Linked DNA regions of Homo sapiens: region 2 is linked to region 1. The links are contacts of gene promoters, found by promoter capture Hi-C in human tissues and cell types (Jung and others, 2019). All regions are on one chromosome and are shown on one strand. The core of a region is centred on a gene start or on the middle of the fragment in contact, and the rest is flanking DNA. Distances in the headings are between cores, read along the strand shown. Region 1 holds the start of PDIA2 (protein disulfide isomerase family A member 2). Region 2 overlaps NPRL3 (NPR3 like, GATOR1 complex subunit).

Region 1 (3,517 bases), core at 401-2,900:
AGGAGCTGCAGGCCTGGCGGTCTCTGGAGGCCCCTCCTGAAGGTCTGGGTGCGGTGCGGCACCTCCCCAGGCCGCCCTGCTCTCTCTGCTCGCTCTCTCCCTGAGCCCCCAGAGGCTTCCCTTGAGTCCCTTTGGATAGTGGGAGGTACAGCTGGCCAGAGGGGGCTCCAGCCTGGTGCTCGAATGCCAGGGTCCGCTAGTGGCTGCTGCTCACGCCCCTCCCCACCCCCAGTCCTCCTGGCTGACAAGGAGGGTGGGCCGCCGGCAGTGGACGAGGTGTTGGATGAGGCTGTGCCCGAGTACCGGGCGCCGGGGAGGAAGAGCCTCTTGGAGATCCGGCAGCTGGACCCGGACGACAGGAGCCTGGCCAAGTACAAGCGGGTGCTGCTGGGGCCCCTGCCACCGGCCGTGGGTATGGCAGGGGTCTAGGCTTGGAGGGCTGGGTCTGGGGGGCTGGTGAGGAGCCTGGTGGGGGTGGGGGGCATCCTGCAGACTTCCAGTTTCTCCTCAGACCCAAGCCTGCCCAATGTGCAGGTGACCAGGCTGACACTCCTGTCGGAACAGGCTCCGGGGCCCGTCGTCATGGATCTCACAGGTAACTCGCAGGATGCTGCACCCTGAACACAGGTAGGGCCCTCCCAGGCACGCTTCTGCACCCCTGAGTTCCGAGCCCTGGGCCATCACAGTCGCACACCTCATGGGTACCACACCCTACGTGGGGGCTCCTGGAGCAGGTCTCAGCCTGTAGGGGAGTTCCGACCCTAGCTGAGGTTTCCCCAATAGGGGACCTGGCTGTTCTGAAGGACCAGGTGTTTGTCCTGAAGGAAGGTGTTGATTACAGAGTGAAGATCTCCTTCAAGGTGAGAGCCGGGGCAATGGGCGGAGGGGATGGGGGTGGGGGCAACAGCCAGAGGCCTGGCCCCCAGAGGAACCCCTAATGCCTCTGTTCCCAGGTCCACAGGGAGATTGTCAGCGGCCTCAAGTGTCTGCACCACACCTACCGCCGGGGCCTGCGCGGTGAGGGCAGCGGTGGGGGGAACGGGGCGGGGGGGGGAAGCGGGGGCAGACAGAGGACAGCTCTGATGCCCTCGCCCTCCCTAGTGGACAAGACCGTCTACATGGTGGGCAGCTATGGCCCGAGCGCCCAGGAGTATGAGTTTGTGACTCCGGTGGAGGAAGCGCCGAGGGGTGCGCTGGTGCGGGGCCCCTATCTGGTGGTGTCCCTCTTCACCGACGATGACAGGACGCACCACCTGTCCTGGGAGTGGGGTCTCTGCATCTGCCAGGACTGGAAGGACTGAACCCCCAGTCCGTGTCTCCCCTACCTCCCTCAGTTGTTGCACAGGGACCCCCAAGCATCCCCAGCACCCCCCGTGAGTGACCAGACCCTCCCCTGCTGCCCCTGCTGCCCCTGCTGCCCCTGCTCTGTCCCGGGACCCCCTGGCCTGGCGCTGTCCCCTGAGCTGTCCCATTAAACATGGCCCTGTCTCTCTCGGTGCCCTGGGTGTCGTCTCTTTCTGCCTCCCCTCCCCTGGGGGCCGGGGGCGGCCGCATGGGCCTTGTCTTTGCTGGGACTGGGCCTGTGTGCCACGTGGCAGCTGCTGCTTGGCTTCTGGCCCCCTTATCTGCCCCCGCCCCACGCGCCCTGGCAGCACCATGAGCCGCCAGCTTCTGCCTGTACTGCTGCTGCTGCTGCTCAGGGCTTCGTGCCCATGGGGTCAGGAACAGGGAGCGAGGAGCCCCTCGGAGGAGCCTCCAGAGGAGGAAATCCCCAAGGAGGATGGGATCTTGGTGCTGAGCCGCCACACCCTGGGCCTGGCCCTGCGGGAGCACCCTGCCCTGCTGGTGGAATTCTGTGAGTGCTGGGGCCAGTGGGGCTGGGGACCGGCGGGGGACCGGCAGAGCCCACCTGGGGGCCCCACCCTTTGCCGGCAAATGCAGGGCATGTGCCCAAGAGGGGCCTCCCCGCAGGCACTTGCCCCCACTGTGCCCAGGAGCTCTCTAGGAGGGGCCTGGGGGTCTGGTTGGGGCAGGCAGGAGCAGTGTGGTAGTACTGGGGGTACCCACAGGACTTGAGAACACCTGTGCCTCCCTGCTCGGCCAGCGGCCACGGTGCCAGAGTCACCACCTTGCCGGCCACTCCTCCAGCTGCCAGGGGCATCCCACAGACTCTGCAGAGGCTCGGGCAGTATCCAGGCTTTGGGGGCCCATGGAGGTCCCTGACGTGTGTGCCCTGTGGTCTTTTCGCAACCCTTGACACACATAGGAACTGTTCTTGCCTAGGAGGCCTTCACAGGCAGCCACATGGGCCCGGGAGCCCCAGCCATACAAGGCACGAAAGGGAGGGGTCTTTTTATTTTTATTTTTTGAGATGGAGTTTTGCTTTTGTCGCCCAGGCTGGAGTGCAGTGGCCCTATCTCGGCTCACTGCAACCTCCGCCTCCCAGGTTCAAGCAATTCTCCTGCCTCAGCCTCCCGAGTAGCTGGGATTATAGGCATACGCAACCAATCCCGGCTAATATTTTTTGTATTTTTAGTAGAGATGGGGTTTCTCCATGTTGGTCAGGCTGGTCTCGAACTCCCAACCTCAGGTGATATGCCCGCCTCTGCCTCCCAAAGTGCTGGGATTACTGGCGTGAGCCACTGAGCCTGGCTGTGGGGGGAGGGGGGGTGGTCTTTCAAGCTCTCCCAAGCCTTACTGGTCCCTGTGCTGCAGCCTGGGGGGCCACGAAGAGGCACTGGTGCTCGGCTTGTCCACGGCCAGGGCTCAGGGCAGAATGGAGCAGCACGCTTGTTCCCTGCTGGGTTGTCAGGTGTGGAGAGGGTGCTCCTGGGGTTGTGGTGGCCTGGGGCACTCACGGCCCCATCCCCCAGATGCCCCGTGGTGTGGGCACTGCCAGGCCCTGGCCCCCGAGTACAGCAAGGCAGCTGCCGTGCTCGCGGCCGAGTCAATGGTGGTCACGCTGGCCAAGGTGGATGGGCCCGCGCAGCGCGAGCTGGCTGAGGAGTTTGGTGTGACGGAGTACCCTACGCTCAAGTTCTTCCGCAATGGGAACCGCACGCACCCGGAGGAGTACACAGGTGAGGGGCAGGCCGGTCATTGGGGGGGCGGTGGCCAGGCCGAGGCTGAGGGGGACTCCCTGCAGGACCACGGGACGCTGAGGGCATTGCCGAGTGGCTGCGACGGCGGGTGGGGCCCAGTGCCATGCGGCTGGAGGACGAGGCGGCCGCCCAGGCGCTGATCGGTGGCCGGGACCTAGTGGTCATTGGCTTCTTCCAGGTGAGCCACTGGGCATGGGGGGCCGGGCCATGAGGGCAGTGACTGTGGGTGGGACCGGGTGGCCTCACAGGGCCAGGCCCCTCAGGACCTGCAGGACGAGGACGTGGCCACCTTCTTGGCCTTGGCCCAGGACGCCCTGGACATGACCTTTGGCCTCACAGACCGGCCGCGGCTCTTTCAGCAGTTTGGCCTCACCAAGGACACTGTGGTTCTCTTCAAGAAGGTAGGTCAGGCCCAG
Region 2 (3,517 bases), core at 627-3,126, 180 kb before region 1:
AAAAAAAAAAAAAAAAAAAATATTAGCCAGGCGCACACCTGTAGTCCCAGCTACTTGGGAGGATGCTTGAGCCTGGGTGGATCATGATGGCACCACCACATGCCAGCCTGGGAGACAGAGCAAGAACCTGTCTCAGAAAAGAAAAAAGAAATACAAGGGCACAATTTGGTAAGTGCTCTCACAGAGGATAGATAAAGGGTCCTGAGATACAGAGGCGGGAGACTTACTCTCAAAGACAGAATCCAAAAAGGCTGCTTTCGGGGAAAAGTGGCCTGAGAGTCAGGCCTTGTTGGACAAGTTCCCCTAACGTGCTAAGCAGAGACCTGTTTCACAGGCCAAAAGAGCATGGAAGCTCAGCCAGAGGGACCCAGGCGGGCCCACCTCACGCCTGTGTTCCTCGGCAGCCTCTGCTGCCCCCTGGTGGCCATGCTGTGCACACCGCCACCAGACGAGGGCGCCACCCACAGGCACCACCTGCTCCCACCCTCAGGCAGTATTTCAATGGTCCCGTGGCTCTGGGCCACGCCCACATGACTAGCAGCCACAGCTGATCCCATGGCCTGTTGGCCACCCCATCAGCAGCCCCTGCTTCTGATTTCTCCCCGTGCTTTTTTTTTTTTTGGAAACAGAGTCGCCCAGGCTGGAGTACAGTGGCACAATCTCAGCTAACTGCAACCTCTGCCTCCCAGGCTCAATTGATCCTCACACCTCATACCCCCAAGTAGCTGGGACTACAGGTGCACGCCACCACACCCAGCTATTTTTTTTTTTTTTTTTTTTGTATTTTTTGTAGAGACGGGGTTTTGCCATGTTGCTCAGGCTGGTCTCAAAGTCCTGGGCTAGGATGACAGGCATGAGCCACCGTGCCCAGCCTTGCCTGCGCTTTTCCTCCCACACTCCAACCAGATCCGCAGACGAGGCTGAGGGGCCCTCCATCTAATCAGAAAGGGCAGCCCTCTGCATGGACAGGCCCATAAGCATGTGGCTCAGCAAGGACGTGGCATCTTGTACAGAGTGCACAGGCCAACACATGTGCACACACAGGGGCGTAAGGCCACCAGGTTAGGTCTCTGTTCTGCACATGGGAGGGCCCCGCATCCAAGCTTCCTGCCCTTAGTTCCCGTATGTTGTTCATGCACCACTGTGAGACCCCCATGGCCCTGCCCGCTGCTGCCCTGCCCACCCCCTAGCTCTGGTGCCTCAACCTCCAGGACTGCAAGCACCCCAGTCCTTTCTCTCACAGACTCGCCTTACCTCTCTGAGACAGAAGAACAAGTCAGTCCCGTGGCTCACTCACAAAGCCAGCCCTGAACCCAGGTCTGACTCAGATGCCAAAACCTCCAGCCATCCCAGGGACTGGCCCCACCCCATGGTGGGCTGTGCCGCGGCTCTCAGCTGGACACAGCCCCTGTGGATGTACTGTGGCAGGCGGCCTGCCTTTCCTGATGCCCCAGCACCGCCACATGCCACCCATCTGGGCCTCCAGAGCTATACCTGCAGCAAGGCCAGGTCCGCATCTTGGGCTAGCTGCTGCAGGTTCTTCACAGCAGATGTGGTCTTGATCACCCGCACTAGGGCAGGGGAGCAGTCAATAGGAAGCTCACCCAGCAAGGACTTCTCATCACTGAGCAGCAGCAGGGCATGGTAGGGGCTGCAAAACAATCACCTGTCACGGAACACACGAAGTGCAGGAACCCTGCACCGGGTATGCACCAGGTCCTGCACCAGGTATGCACCGGGTATGCACCAGGTCCTGCACCAGGTATGCACCGGGTATGCACCAGGTATGCACCTGGGACTCAAACACACGGAACATACGAAGTGCAGGGAACCCTGCACCAGGTATGCACCAGGTCCTGCACGAGGTCCTGCACCGGGTGTGCATCAGGTATGCACCTGGGACACAAACAGGCAGCTGGAGCCTCCTGGCCCTTAACTGCGGAGAGAAGGGCCAAGAGCGGGATTTGAGAAAAGGGCAGTGGTCTGTTTGGAGGCCTTCACAAAATCTGCCAAGGACTGGCTCATGCCTATAATCCCGGCACTCTGGGAGGCCAAGGCAGGCAGGTCACGTGAGGTCAGGAGTTCGAGGCCAGCCTGGCCAACATGGTGAAACCCCATCTCTACTAAAAATAAAAAAATTATCCGGGTGTGGTTGCACCCACCTGGGGTCCCAGCTACTCGGCAGGCTGAGGCAGGAGAATCACTTGAGCCTGGGAGGCGGAGCTTGCAGTGAGCCGAGATTGCGCCATTGCACTCCAGCCTGGCGACAGAGTGAGACTCTGTCTCAAAAACAACAAAAACAAAACCTGCAAGGATTATGTCACCCTCGGAAAAAAACACGACAAAAGTGGGGAAGGCTCGAAGACTGGACTCTGTATCCCACCTCAGAGACGCCCAGCAAACATCTGTTGATTGAAGACATGAATGAATCTTTCCTAAGGAAATTGTCCCAAATATGGGAAAAGCAAAATCCTCCTCACAGACTAGGGACCAAAGTACATTAAAATATGCTTAGCTAGGATTGAAAGCAAAGAGCACGGACTGGGGAGGGTGGAACTAGGCAGCGCTTTGCTTTCTGTCATTTCCAAATTTTCAGCAATGTGCCCAGATATATTTTTATAATTAAAAAATGTTCAAGGTATTGGGGGACTTGGGAACAGGTGGTGCCAGAAGACTGGGCTCAGTTCTTTCCTTGCAGAAAATCAATTAAATTGCCAGGGCATGGTGGCTAACACCTGTAACCCAGCACTTTGGCAGGCCGAGGCGGGTGGATCACGAGGTCAGGAGTTCAAGACGAGCCTGGCCAACATGGTGAAACCCCATCTCTACTAAAAATACAAAAATTAGCCAGGTGTAGTGGTGTGCACCCATAATCCCAGCTACTCAGGGGGCTGAGGCAGGAGAATCGCTTGAACCCGGGAGACAGAGGCTTCACTGAGTGGAGACTGTGCCACTGCACTTGAGCCCCGAGCAAGACTACATCTCAAAAAAAAAAAAAAAAAAGTCAATTAAATTAAGAAAGTATATTTTGGGAGGCTGAGATGAGCGATGAGTGGATCACCTGAGGTCAGGAGTTCGAGACCAGTCTGGCCAACATGGTGAAACCCTGTCTCTACTAAAAGTACCAAAAAAATTAGCCAGGCATGGCAGTGGGCGCCTGTAATCCCAACTACTCGGGAGCCTGAGGCAGGAGAATCACTTGAACTTGGGAGGTGGACGTAGTGGTGAGCCGGGATCGCACTACTGAAATCCAGCCTGGGCGATAAGATCAAAACTCTGTCTCTCTCTCACACACACACACACCCCCGCAAAAAAAAAAAAAAAAAAGAAAAAGAAAAAAAAAAGAAAAAGAAAATAACTGAGATCCCATGAGTGCTGACTGAAATGCAAAAGACTGGGGTAGGGCAACACCATTAAGATGAAGTCCCTCCAGCCCTCCGGCCTCCCCAAGGACACTCAGCCCCACATCCAGGCTGCCCTGCCCAAGCCTAAGGTGGTGCCAGAAGGGCCCAGGAGA

The links. Contacts are between HindIII fragments. The study calls those that stand out against the background at their distance.
Region 2: a contact is called between a fragment that was not itself captured here and the fragment with the promoter of PDIA2 in region 1, in 1 of the 25 tissues and cell types used here (aorta).

Annotation. Positions count from the first base shown.
Region 1 is chr16:281,514-285,030 of GRCh38, forward strand. PDIA2 (protein disulfide isomerase family A member 2) reads left to right here and starts at 1,651. Exons shown (of 11, transcript NM_006849.4): 1 at 1,651-1,855; 2 at 2,874-3,080; 3 at 3,146-3,279; 4 at 3,365-3,502. The coding sequence starts at 1,657. ARHGDIG (Rho GDP dissociation inhibitor gamma) reads left to right here. Exons shown (of 6, transcript NM_001176.4): 2 at 233-412; 3 at 512-595; 4 at 784-860; 5 at 954-1,017; 6 at 1,102-1,497. The coding sequence ends at 1,301. The HindIII fragment of the contact is 12,890 bases long and covers 1-3,517 here.
Region 2 is chr16:96,651-100,167 of GRCh38, forward strand. It overlaps NPRL3 (NPR3 like, GATOR1 complex subunit), which reads right to left. Exons shown (of 14, transcript NM_001077350.3): 9 at 1,495-1,651. Among named protein-coding and RNA genes, the nearest start is that of MPG, 20 kb to the left of the region's middle. The HindIII fragment of the contact is 4,700 bases long and covers 1-3,517 here.